Linked DNA regions of Homo sapiens: region 2 is linked to region 1. The links are contacts of gene promoters, found by promoter capture Hi-C in human tissues and cell types (Jung and others, 2019). All regions are on one chromosome and are shown on one strand. Each heading gives the region's core, a stretch centred on a gene start or on the middle of the fragment in contact. The rest is flanking DNA. Distances are from core to core; before and after follow the strand shown. Region 1 holds the start of AKAP6 (A-kinase anchoring protein 6). Region 2 overlaps NUBPL (NUBP iron-sulfur cluster assembly factor, mitochondrial).

Region 1 (6,393 bases), core at 2,681-5,180:
ACCCAATGGAACATTAGTCTATGAAAAAAGGATTCTGTGATTAAATATAAATTAGGAAAATACTGCATACTATATTTCTACAGGAGAGTCTCAATGCATATTAGCAGATTGAAAACTCTTAGAAAATCTGCAACCTATTTAATAAATGCTGATGGGAAAACTGGCTAGCTACATGCAGAAAACAGAAACCGGACCCCTTTCTTATACCTTATACAAAAATGAATTCAAGATGAATTAAAGACTTAAAACCATGAAAACCCTAGAAGAAAACCTAGGCAATACCATTCAGGACACAGGCATGGGCAAAGACTTACTGATTAAAGCACCAAAAGCAATTGCAACGAAAGCCAAAATTGATAAATGGGATCTAATCAAACTAAAGAGCTTCTGCACAGCAAAAGAAACTATCATCAGAGTGAACAGGCAACCTACAGAATGGGAGAAAATGTTTGCAGTCTACCCATCTGACAAAGGTCTAATATCCAGAATCTATAAGGGACTTAAACAAATTTACAAGAATAAAACAACCTCATCAAAAAGTGGGCAAAGGATATGAACAGACACTTCTCAAAAGAAGACATTTATGTGGCCAAAAAACATATGAAAGAAAAGCTCATCATCACTGGTCATTAGAGAAGTGCAAATCAAAACCACAATGAGATACCACCTCACGCCAGTTAGAATGGCAATTATTAAAAAGTCAGGAAACAACACATGCTGGAGAGCCTGTGGAGAAATAGGAACGCTTTTACATTGTTTTGGGGAGTGTAGATTAGTTCAACCATTGTGGAAGACAGTGTGGCGATTCCTCAAGGATCTAGAACCAGAAATAGTATTTGACCTAGCAATCCCATTACTGGGTATATACCCAAAGGATTATAAATCATTCTACTATAAAGACACATGCACATGTATGTTTATTGCAGCACTATTTACAATAGCAAAGACTTGGAACCAACCCAAATGCCCATCGATGATAGTCTGGATAAAGAAAATGTTGCACATGTACACCATGGAATACTATGCAGCCATAAAAAAGAATGAAGCTGGAAGCCATCATTCTCATCAGACTAACACAGGAACAGGAAATCAAACACTGCATGTTATCACTCATAAATGGGATTTGAACAATGAGACCACATGGACACAGGGAGGGGAACACCATACACCAGGGCCCTTCGGGGGGTTGTGGGCAAGGTGAGGGAGAGCATTAGGACAAATAGCGAATTCATGCAGGGCTTACAGCCTAGATGATGGGTTGATAGGTGCAGCAAACCACCATGGCACATGTATACCTATGTAACAAACCTGCATGTTCTGCACATGTATCCCAGGACTTAAAGTAATATAAAATAAAAAAAGAAAGTCTGCAATAAAGGAACATGTTTTTAACACTGTCACTTTATCATAAATAATGATATATAATATAATCTTGTTAGAAAATTTATATTTTATTAAATTATAATTTTATCTATAAATGGATAATTTGTTCAGAATAAACTACCCCAAAATCTTGGTGGTGTTTGTTTCTCACTCATTGCAGCCCAGTGTAGGTCAATAGGTAGTTGGGAGAGGATGGTTGAGCTCCATGCAGTCATTCAGGGACCCAGGCTCCATCCACAATGTGTGGCCATTATCTTTCTGGGCTTCAGAGTTCCACTGGATTCTTTGCATCCAGCTAGCAGGACAGGAAAACATGAAGAAGAGACACTTGGTCTTAGCCACCTTTGGAGTTGATGGTTTCCACTTCTACTTCCGTTTCATTGGTGAGTGCCATTTTGTGGGCAAGCAATTTAGCTAGTCCAGGTTGCTAAAAGTTTGACCTGGCCTCAGGTTTGATGAGCCATCCATTTCTTCCCATCAAATGATTGACTTGCTTCTGGCAAAAAAGATTAACAAGATTCTTACCATCTTGAGAAGCCATATTCAAATCTGGAACACCTGCTCCCACCCTGTCCTCTCCTCTTTATAGCATGTGGATTTCAGCTCTGGAAAGACTAATCTTGTTCTGTAATAGGTCCATGTCTCTTTATCTTCTCCAGAGACTGAAGGGTTCTTCAGAGGTATCTTAAAGAGTCAGCTTACAGCAAATGAGGTTGGAGGCAGTGGTTGAGAATGGCTCATCAGTCTGGGCTCTGGGCTTCTTATCTTGCCTCAACCAAGGCAGTCCAGCTTTGATCTGTATCATTAAAAGAAAGGTTATATTACTAATGAAAAACCTGAAAACTATGGTTATTAGCTAAATCAATCATCTCTGCAGATGAAAAACTTGAGGCCCCAAGAAGTTAATCAATTGGCCTGATATCACACAGATGCTCTAGGAGGACCTGACATTTACAGTTGGGTTTCCTGACTCTCAGATCTGTACTCTTTGTACTGGGGTAGCTGCCTGCTACTTCTCCCCTTGTGTGTGGCATGTGGTCTGAGGTCTAAGATAAAGGGAGGGAGTCAGGCTCTGCTGATGCCACAAAGGACCTAAGCAGGCAGATTCACCTCCTGCTTTTGGTCTCTTAATTCCTCTCTAGATGAAGCAAGAACAAGTCTGTCTTCCCATCTAGGGCAGGGTTGCTCTGTGCGAGGCTGATGGTGCACGCTGCTGGGATATTGGCACTTCTCAGGCATTTTATTAGCTCCTGTTTACAGAGACACTGCCTGAATTCCTTCTGCCACTCATCCCACACCGCCTATGCTGGTGGTTAACAGTGCCATTTTAAAATCTCAAGCAGGAGGAGACAACATAATTGTCTCATGTTTTAAGCTTTTGGAATGTTGTTCTTTTTCAGAGTTGTGAAGACGGAGTGGATACAGGTCAACTTGATTCTGCTTTTCTCTATCAATGGCCTGCAAATATTAAATATGCAAAACATAGGCTGCTCTGTCCATATCTCCTTCTCCCCAGTTCTCACCACATGACGTTGATTTCTGCTCAGGACTGGAAAGAAGTGATTGCTTTAGATTTGCTTTTCTTTTACCAACTGGAGAAATGCCTTACCGTGTCTTGTTTAAATGTGGCTTTTCACACAGTTCCAGCTTTTGGGGTTGGGGAGGGGCACAAATAATCTGTGTGGTAGGCAGTTTTATTGTTCAGAAAAGAAGAAAACAGACCCCAATGTTTGGAATGCCAACGATTTAGGAAGTTTCTAGCAGGTCTGCTACTTGTTCCAACCACTAGGTTTGATCCCAGAAAAGACTCACATGCGTTTTGGCCATGAGAAGGAGGGGTTCCCTGCAGGCCAAAGGAAGGGTCAGTAGAAGTTGAGGGTGGTGTGTTGTGCCCCTCTAGATTCCAAACTTCCCTTTGCTGCCTATCTGATGACCAGGTGAAAGCTGGGTTTATTCTGCATGGGAAGGTTCTGTGGGTTGGTGTTCATCAGGGAAAATAACCAGGACAGACTTCATTGGCCAAGGGTTTGCCCATGTTTTGAGAATTAAAACTTGTTTACTTGAGAGTTAGAGTCATTTGGTCAGCTGTTTATATTCCATTTTTAATTATTTTTGTGCTCGCTGTTTTGTTCTTTTGGTCTTTGACAGATGAGCAAAAATTCTTTTTAATAACTTTTAAAAAGCTATCCCAGTGCTGACCAGGGAGGAAAAAGTGATCAAATTGTCTAATAAGGAAACATTGTACATTTCAGTTTTTATTTGCTTAGTACTAATTCTATTTTCTCCTCCCACCTTTTTTTTCTAAATGTATAACAACAAAGGGGGAGATAATTTTTGTTTTTTCCAAAATGCTTTCAGGGAAATCCCTTTTAAACCTATGGATTTTAGTCCAATGAGGAATCCTCTTCCTTTGGTCTAAATTTTGCATATCGTCTGTTTCTTACAGGGCTTCCGTATTGTCTCAGGCTCCACTGGAAATGCAGCAAGGATTCCTAGCACATCCCAGTTGCCATAGCAACAGCAGTCTTTCCCATAATGAGCTGCATCATCTGAACTGATGTCACAGCATCATGCAGCAGGTCAAACAAGGCATCTCCTAGTATTGCATCCTACAGATGTGCTGTAAACATCAAAAGAAGACGGTGGGATCAGGAGATGGTGAGTGTTAAATGTCTGGGCCTTAATTGCACGGCTGTTTTGTTGGTTAGTCGGTGTCTGCTAAGGCGGAGATTGGGGGATGTTGTCTCTGCTTAAAATGGACTGGGGAAAGAAGGGCTGTTTTACCTAAATCGTTTTTCAGGCTGCCGGGTTAAGACAAAGGCCTGTAAGAGTCATATAGGAATTAAAATATGTAGAATTATTCTTGCTCCAGCTCTGTCTGTTATTTTTAAGTGTTCTTACAGAATTTTTCATAAACATAAGATGATTTTTCAATTGCAAAACCCCAGATAAGCTTTAAAATGAGTAGTTAACAGTATTTAAGCATTGTAAAAATATAGATTTCTTTTTGGGAGGCAGAGCTAATTGGCCCCCTCTTTGCTCTTGTGAATTATGAAATATTCAGTGATTTGCAGTATGAAATTCATTATTTACCTCGGTTGGGTTTCAGTTTCTTCATGGCAAGGAACAAATGCTGAATAAGCATTTGACATAACCCTGATGTGAAAGGGGATCTCTTGCATATTCAAGACAGAATTTATTAAAAGCATAAAAACCTAAACCAAATGAAATTATTTGAGCCTTTTGATCTATATGGTAGTTCTTCAACCCATGTCCTTCAGAGTTAGTTGAAAGACTGCCACATATTTTTCCATCTCTAGCTAGTCTCTGAAATAGCTGGAGTTGTTTGCAGGCTGACTTGTAACTGAGAAAGGAACAAGTCTCCTCTCTGCGGCAGTTGCAGTGAAGGGTAACCCTGGGAGAGCCTCTGAAGTGGCAGTGGTGTTGCCATCCCTTGCTTAACTTTAACAAAAATCTGGGTATGATGAATAAATATCAGGGTCCTCAGTGGTTGTAGGGATTACAGACCTCTGGACTCAGTCATAACCTCAACTCAATTCCAAAACTCTAAACACGTATCATTTTCATTTCAACTCCTAGCTCTGTTTTTAGGCATCTTTATTATTATTATTATTTTCTAAAAAATTAGTCTGACAGTGTCAGATAAGGAGCAGAATGTTGCCTTTTGTTTTGGGAAATGAAATGGATTTCCCTGGTACAGCTGATTGCTACTAGGGGAGAGAAAGGAGGAGGCACATGTCAGTTCAATTGATCAATATGTCCACTTAGAATCAGGGAGTGGTCTTGTGGCTTAATGCTGCCAAATTGATAGTTTTTACTCAAAAAGTCTTACACGAAAGAATGGCAACCATTGAATTCCTCTTCTTTTAGTCTGTTTATTGGGGCTAAAGAGATATATCATGGAAAGCAGGAAAAGCAATACCTTTAGCTAGCTTGGAGTGATTTTTTTTTTTTTTTTTTTTTTTTTTTTTTGCACAGAGTTAAGTATGCTAGTCCCATTAGGCACCAGCCAGAGGAAAGGCCTCAGGTTTTAATTTGTTTGTTTATACCACATCACGCACATGCTTGCTACTCTCAGTCCTTTAAGCTTATGTTTCTGACATGCAGCTGTATAGGATGGGAGAGGTCAGCTCAGCCTGGCTTTATCGCAAGCACTTAGAAGCATGAATTGTTCATTGCCTGCTTTTTTATGTCATATAATGTGAGCAGAAAGCTCTGCTGGGACTGCTGGGTGTGAACACATCTAAGTCGAAAGCTCTAAGGTGACAGGGAAGAGTGCTAGATGGTGATGGGGGAAGGGAAAGTATGTCTTGTAGCTAGATTATAAATCTGGATAAAATCACTTAGTGCCTTTTAGAATTTTCTTAAAGTATTATTTCTGAAGAAGAGCAATGAAGAAAGACTTGTTTGGTAACATGAATTTCTAGGAGTAAAAAAAAGCAAAAGGCAGCATTGTAATGAGTTTTCTGTTTGCTTAATTCTTGTCTCTTTTGTTTAAAGTGCTCTTCAGCTGCTTCATCATGGTTGATTTGTTCAATTACTGGAAGTCACAAAAGCTAGATTCCTTAAGGGCAGTGTTAGAAAAAGTGGAGTCATGCTTTGAGGGTGGGGAAGGGCGCTGGTGGGTGTGGACTGACGCAGTTATCTAGTGGAACATCCTCCCGGTTCAGACAACCCTGTAATTTTTCCCCCCGCAAATGTTCAAAATGCAATTACAGTTCTCCAACTTTATGCTTTTGTGCTCTTTTTGCTCCAGGAGAACAAAGCCCTGGTAATGAGAGCTATCATCCTAATGTTTTGTTTCTTCGTTTCTTTGTAGAGGGCCACAGCCTGCGCTGCTCTCTGATTAGCTGCATGTCTTAATTACTGGCTAAGGCTATTTCAGTTGTCTTAGTTTTAATATATCCCCAAGGGGTAGATGGTGTGTGTGTGTGTATAGGGGAAGGGAGAGATTTCTCTATGGCTGTATTTATTGGTGCCTCACTGAAA
Region 2 (6,519 bases), core at 1,884-4,383, 760 kb before region 1:
TTGCGCTTCTAGAAAGAGAAGATTCAAATATCAAGACAAAATTTTTTCTTAAAAAATTTTTTTTCAACTTGCTTCCTTTTATGGGGGACCTACTTTCATGTATCCCATCTTATCCTCTTTCTTGAATTCTTTTTTTTGTTTTTCTGAAGGACACCCTTGAGTCCTTATATGGTTTGGTAGGCAGAACAGTGGCCTGCCAAAAGTGTCCACATCCTAATTCCTGGAACCTGTAAATATGTTACTTTTCCTGCCAAAAGGAACTTTGCTGGTGTGACTAACACCAGCAAAATTAAAGATCTTGAGATGGGAAGATTATCCTGGATTATCTGGCTAGGTCCAATTGAAGATCCTTATAAATGAAAGATGGAGGTAGGTCCGAGTCAGAGTGACTTGATAAGAGAAGGATTCAATCCACCATTGCTGGCCTTGAAGACAGAAGGGGACCACTAGTCAAGGAATGTAGTCAGCTTCCAGAAGCTTGAAAAGGCAAAGAAATTGATTTTTCCCTAAAGCTTCCAGAAGGTACGTAATTCTGCCAACACCTTAATTTTAGCTCATTGAGATCTCTTTGGACTTCTGTGATAATATTTTATAGAAGTAGGAAACTAATACATATAGGAAGTAAATTTGCTTATTTCTTTAATTTCCAAAAGTGTCTTTAATTTATATTCGTTATTTGATAGCTTAACTAGATTCTAGTTAACTATAAAATTCCAGGTTCAAAATAATTTCCTCTCTGAACTTTGAAAACAACATACCGTTTTTTTCTAGCATGCTAATGAAATGTCTGATGATAGTCTGATTCATGTTCTTTTGTAATAACCAGTGTTTTCCCTCTCAAAGAGTTTAGGTTTTCTTTATGTCTTTTACATTTAAAAGTGCCACAAACATGCGTCTAGTTATTGGCTTAACCTGCGTGGGATTTGGCCCTGCAGTATCAAGCTTTGAGTATTTTTCAGCATAGGAAAAATTTCTTCTGCTCATTGATTATGTTTTGTGATGTGTTTGTTCTGTCTCCAGAAACCTGTTAGGTAGATACTGACCTTTATGCTTGTTAATTTTTCTGTCATATTTTGATCTCTTTGTCTTTTGCTCTGTGTTTTGAAAGATGTCTTTGACTATTTTTCACATTGCTGTATTGGACTTTAGTTGTTATTAGGTTCTTCTGATTTTGTTTTTCATTTGGAAATTATTTTTTTTTCCAATTTTTCCAGAACTATTTCTTATTTTCCACTTGCTGTTCCAAAAAAAAGGTTGTACCATTCTCTTGAATCTCTCCGAGGATGCTAATTGAAATTAATAAAAAGTGTTTTTCTTAGTGACCTCTGCTTACTTAGGATGGTTCTTGTAATGTGGCTGTTGACCAGCAGAATCAGCTTTACCTGGGAACTTGTTAGACATGTAAAATCTTGAGCCCCACCCTAGGCTTACTGAATCAGAAACCCTGGGGATAGAGATCTGCAATCTGTGTTTTAACCAACCCTCTAGGCGATTTTGATGCATGCCAAAGTTAAGAACCATGGATCTAGAATTTTCCACTTCTAACCTGCTAATGTCACCCTCTTTTGTTTTCTAGTGTGGTTATGGTTTTATTTAGTTTTAGACTATTTTGTTTCCTTGTCATTTCAATGGAATTTGGAAGAGAAGGGAGATAAACATATATGTTTAGGCAACCGTATTGAGATAAGAGCCAGTAATATGGTTTTTTTCCTAGTGATTTTAATGACAGCACTTAGTTACCCTAGAAAAAGGACCCTGTCTTCCTTAAGGAAGGAAACGGAAAATTCAATGGATGGGAAGGTAGATAAATTTGTAGGTGTGGACCTCTTTTAATTTGGTTATCATTGCAGCCAAAGCTTTGAGTCTTATAGATAATGTGAAGTAACTATGTAATAAGGGATCCAAGGATGAAAAAAACAGTTAACTCATTTCCTGTTTAGAAAAAAAAAGTGCAGCTCGCTGCCAGCACTTATTTAACTTTACATAAACACGCCCTTCGAGGCTGAACCAAATCTGACTGATTTTCAATGTGAAAATAAAATATAAAAACTCTTCTTGGAGTTATTTCTAAACAGAACTAACATTAGAATTCTCTGAATCATCAGAATTGTCTATTTCAGAAAAATTGGATTCATCAAATGAATCTTCGGCCAACAACTGTTTGAGGATGATATTACCATCACACTCAGGAATGCTACGTTTTCTAGGATTTGACATTTTCAGTGATTGAGAATTACTATATTTTGTAAATTGAAATGCTGCTACTAAAAATAGAATGCTATAAATAGAATGATGTCTTTTGTTTCCAAAGTTGATATACTAGAGTGATGTGAAAATAATAATAAAAGCAAGATATTTCATGGAGTGGCAAGATCTAATAAGATAAGGTTGTAGGCCTAGGGGAAACAGGTCCAGGAAGCAATTCATTTTACTTTTCATGTTGTACTTAGTAATATCTGAAGTGGATTGCGTAAGCCCTGGGGAGATTTGCAAGACAGTCCATTGGGATGTGGGCAGAACATTTTTCTTTTCTATTTGAATTAATTTTTATTTTAATATTTGTTTGTATATACCTTATATATGGTATTAGTATAGTAGCTCTAATATAATGTATAAACAAATATATTAACATATTGAGGATGTATGCCCAAATACCTTTTAAAAAACTGATTGGGGTACATGATCAGAAAAGTTTGAATGTCACTGGTCTAGGCTAAAGGAATTTCTGGGCTGGACCATATGCCTAGTTCAAAAGAAGACTACCTCTACCTTGTAGATTGAGTTTTTTTTGTTTTTGTTTTTGTTTTTGTTTTTTAAGATCTCGATCTGTTGCCCAGGCTGGAGTGCAGTGGTGTGATCTCAGCTCACTGCAACCTCCGCCTCCCGGGTTCAAGTGATTCTCATGCCTCATCCTCCTGAGCAGCTGGGATTACAGGTGCCCGCCACAACACCCAGCTAATTTTTGTATTTTTAATAGAGATGGGGTTTCACCATATTGGTCAGGCTGGTCTGAAACTCCTGACCTCAAGTGATCCACCCACTTCTGCCTCCCAAAGTGCTGGAGTTACAGGTGTGAGCCACCATGCCTGGCCTGCATTGAGGTTTTAAAAGCATTATAGGAATAGGGTGTAGATTTTTCCTGCTTTTTCCTTGCCTTTTATACTTTCCTTTGAGGATGTGGATGGGTAGTATTGCAGAGCAAAATTTGGGGATCATGTGTACTATGCATATAAATATTGCAACCCATGGTGTGCCTGAGCCAGTGCATACTGGCTTGTGACAGCTGATTGTTAAATTTTCGGTGAATTTTGCAGACCAACTCGTATCATGTTGTTAGCTTGAAATAGGCCCATGATGGGAATATTTAAACCATGGAAATTGGCAAACACTGAAAATCAAGCCCACTACCCCAAGCCAGTTGTTAGACCTTAATGGTACCCACTGATCTTATATATTGACAATCTTATTTTTTGATTTTTCTTTTTTCTCTTTCTTAAAAACATCCTTATTATGGATCTCATTCTTTTACGGCAAAAATTTGATGCACAGTTTGGAAGAGCACTGAGACTGGGAGAGGGAAACTTAAAGACCATCAGAAACCATTGATAAGCTCTGTGAGATTCCTAAGTCAGTTCATTTCAGTTCATTTTAGTTCAGCAAACATTTATTGAGCACCTCTAACACTCATTGCCAGACACCGGCAGAAAGTAAAGAAGAATAAACATATACTGTGGAAGCTTATAGCCTGCTAAGATTACATTCACAAATGTTTAGTCTATATAAATATGTTGTATATTTATATAAGTGTATGTCTGTGTTTATGTGTCTATATTTTTTTGGTATATAGTTGAAATTGGTTTAATAGTTTCTTTTGTGAGAAAGTTTAATTAAAGCAACATTTAATAAGGTTTTATTAATATTGCTTCATAACAGAGTAGACACCAGTGTACTCTTAAAGGTTTTATAATCTGATAAGGACAAAAGGAAGACAAATGTTTTAAAATGATGAGATATATTCAGTGTCAAATATAGTAGTAAATCTGCCCAAGATGAGTAGCTTTTATTCCAGAGTAAAGCAGTATTGTTTTAAGTAGAGCATTTTCATGAACATAATTATATTTGATTCTCACAGAAACCTGTAATGCAATCCACATAGTATTTATCAGTTTTACAGTCTTTATTGATTCTCCCCTAATATCCTTGCCACATTTCATCAGCAAGCAAATATCCCTTTTCCTATCTCTACAATATTTTTCCAGTATGTTCCCATTGTTCTATTTCCACTGTTCCTATTTTAATTAAGGCACGTGCTACTTTTGGGTCATTCATTCATTTATACCTCAAACAATTATAGAGTGCCTACTCTGTCCCAAGTGCTGTGTTAGTTCTGAAGATACAAAAATGAATGAGACACAGAATCCCTGCCTTTGAGGAACTCATAGACTAGCATCCCACTGCAATGACCTTTTACCTGCCCGTACTTAGTTAAATCCTTCCAGTACATGATGCCAGACTTCTCTCACTATTGAAATCACATACTCCCTTGCTCAGAGTCATAGCTGGATGCTTTTGCTGATATTCAATATCCTCTGCCATCTGGCTTCAATCTACCTTTCTGGGTTTATCTTTAGCTATTCTTCTAAATGGCTTCTATGCTCTAGCTAATCTGGGTTACTTGCCAAAGCCAGTCTAGGCTGGATATACTATTCTTGATAGCTTACAGTTATTCTTCTACTTGTCTACTGGAATGTTTGTGTTACCTTTCACCAGCTTTATGTGTCCTATCTTTCAGGCTTCCTTATATGGCTGTGCTGGTTATATCCTGCACAAGGATGCTTGTTGAGGGGATTGAGTGATGATAGAAATTCAGGCTACCCTCCTCTTGATGTGCACCTCTTGTTCTGTTGTTTATGATCTGTCAAAAAAAAAAAAAAGATGTGCACCCATGGGCTGCTTTGTAATTCACACAAAGGCACTGTGTGAGCTAGCCTTGCTCAGAAGGGCAGCTCAGCAGCTCATTGAAGTGTTCCCTGAATTCCTGCCAAGTGAGTGTCTTCTTCTTTTTTTTTTTTTCTCACTCTGTTGCCCAGGCTGGAGTGCAGTGGCATGATCTCGGCTCACTGCAACCTCTGCCTCCTGGGTTCAAGTGATTCTCCTGCCTCAGCCTCCCAAGTAGCTGGGATTACAGGCAAGCACCACCATGCCTGGCTAATTTTTGAATTTTTTGTAGAGACGGGGTTTCATCATGTTGGCCAGGCTGGTCTCGAACTCCTGACCTCAGGTGATCTGCCCACCTCGGCCTCCCAAAGTGCTGGGATTACAGGCGTGAGCCACTGTGCCTGGCCTGGCCCTTTCTTCATCTTTTGAAATCCAGTAACACTGTTGATTTGTATTATTATTGCACTCATGCAGCCATTCTGATAAGTTTTATAATAGGAAATAACTAACTTTCATGGAGCATTCATTATGTGTCAAGCACTGTTATATGTGCTTTCCATGGACTATTTTAATCTTCATGACATGGTTCTTAGTTCATTTACTCTTCACAGCAACGTTATGGGAATAAGTACTATTGTGATCCCCACTGTAGTTGAGGAAGCAGAAACACCTATAGGTTAAGTAATTTGCCTCAAGTCACCCAGAAAGTAAATGGCAGAGCTAAGGTTCGAATGCCAACCTAGATCCTGTGCTCTTAACGTACTTGGTGTATTGCTCCTATTTTAGCTAGATTCTTTTTTTTTTTAATTTTTTTTGTGATGGAGTCTTGCTGTGTCACCCAGGCTGGAGTACAGTGGTGCAATCTTGGCTCACTGCAATCTCCGCCTCCCGGGTTCACACCATTCCCCTGCCTCAGCCTCCCGAGTAGCTGGGACTACAGGTACCCGCCACCACACCCATCTAATTTTTTGTATTTTTAGTAGAGACAGGGTTTCACTGTGTTAGCCAGGATGGTCTTGATCTCCTGACCTCATGATCCGCCTGCTTCGGCCTCCCAAAGTTCTGGGATTACCGGCGTGAGCCACTGTGCCTGGCCTAGCTAGATTCTTATGATTAAGAACTAGGTTGTCTTTATTCTTGGCTACCCTCAGCAGCTAGCGCAATGCCTTATGACTTAGAAAATACATGGTAAATGTTTGCTATACGTATGATTGTACAGGCAGATTTGAAAGTATTAAGTGTAAAGTTTCGTTTTACTTTATTTTTTGTGAGAAGTGGTATGGGATGGAGGTGTTTGTTGCGACTTAGTGGCCTACACACTGTTCTTTTCCTGCTTCTTAAAAGATGACGTATGGTCATGCTTTACTTTATGATGGGGGTACCTTCTCAGAAATGCATCATTAGGCGACTTCATTTTTGTATGAACTGCGTAGAGTGTACTTAAACAAAGCTAGATAGTATAGCCTACTGTACACCTAAGCTATATGGTATAACCTATTTGTCCTAGGCTACAAACCTGTATAGCATGTTACTGTACTGAATACTGTAGACGTTTGTAACACAATGGTAAGTATTTATGTA

Evidence for each region. Contacts are between HindIII fragments. The study calls those that stand out against the background at their distance.
Region 2: a fragment that was not itself captured here is called in contact with the fragment with the promoter of AKAP6 in region 1 in 2 of the 25 tissues and cell types used here (dorsolateral prefrontal cortex and hippocampus).

What each region holds. Positions count from the first base shown.
Region 1 is chr14:32,325,368-32,331,760 of GRCh38, forward strand. It overlaps AKAP6 (A-kinase anchoring protein 6), which reads left to right and starts at 3,931. Exons shown (of 14, transcript NM_004274.5): 1 at 3,931-4,041. RefSeq lists an enhancer at 5,896-6,190. The HindIII fragment of the contact is 5,497 bases long and covers 1-4,913 here.
Region 2 is chr14:31,566,405-31,572,923 of GRCh38, forward strand. The region is part of intron 3 of NUBPL (NUBP iron-sulfur cluster assembly factor, mitochondrial); the gene reads left to right. Among named protein-coding and RNA genes, the nearest start is that of NUBPL, 8.3 kb to the left of the region's middle. The HindIII fragment of the contact is 5,279 bases long and covers 495-5,773 here.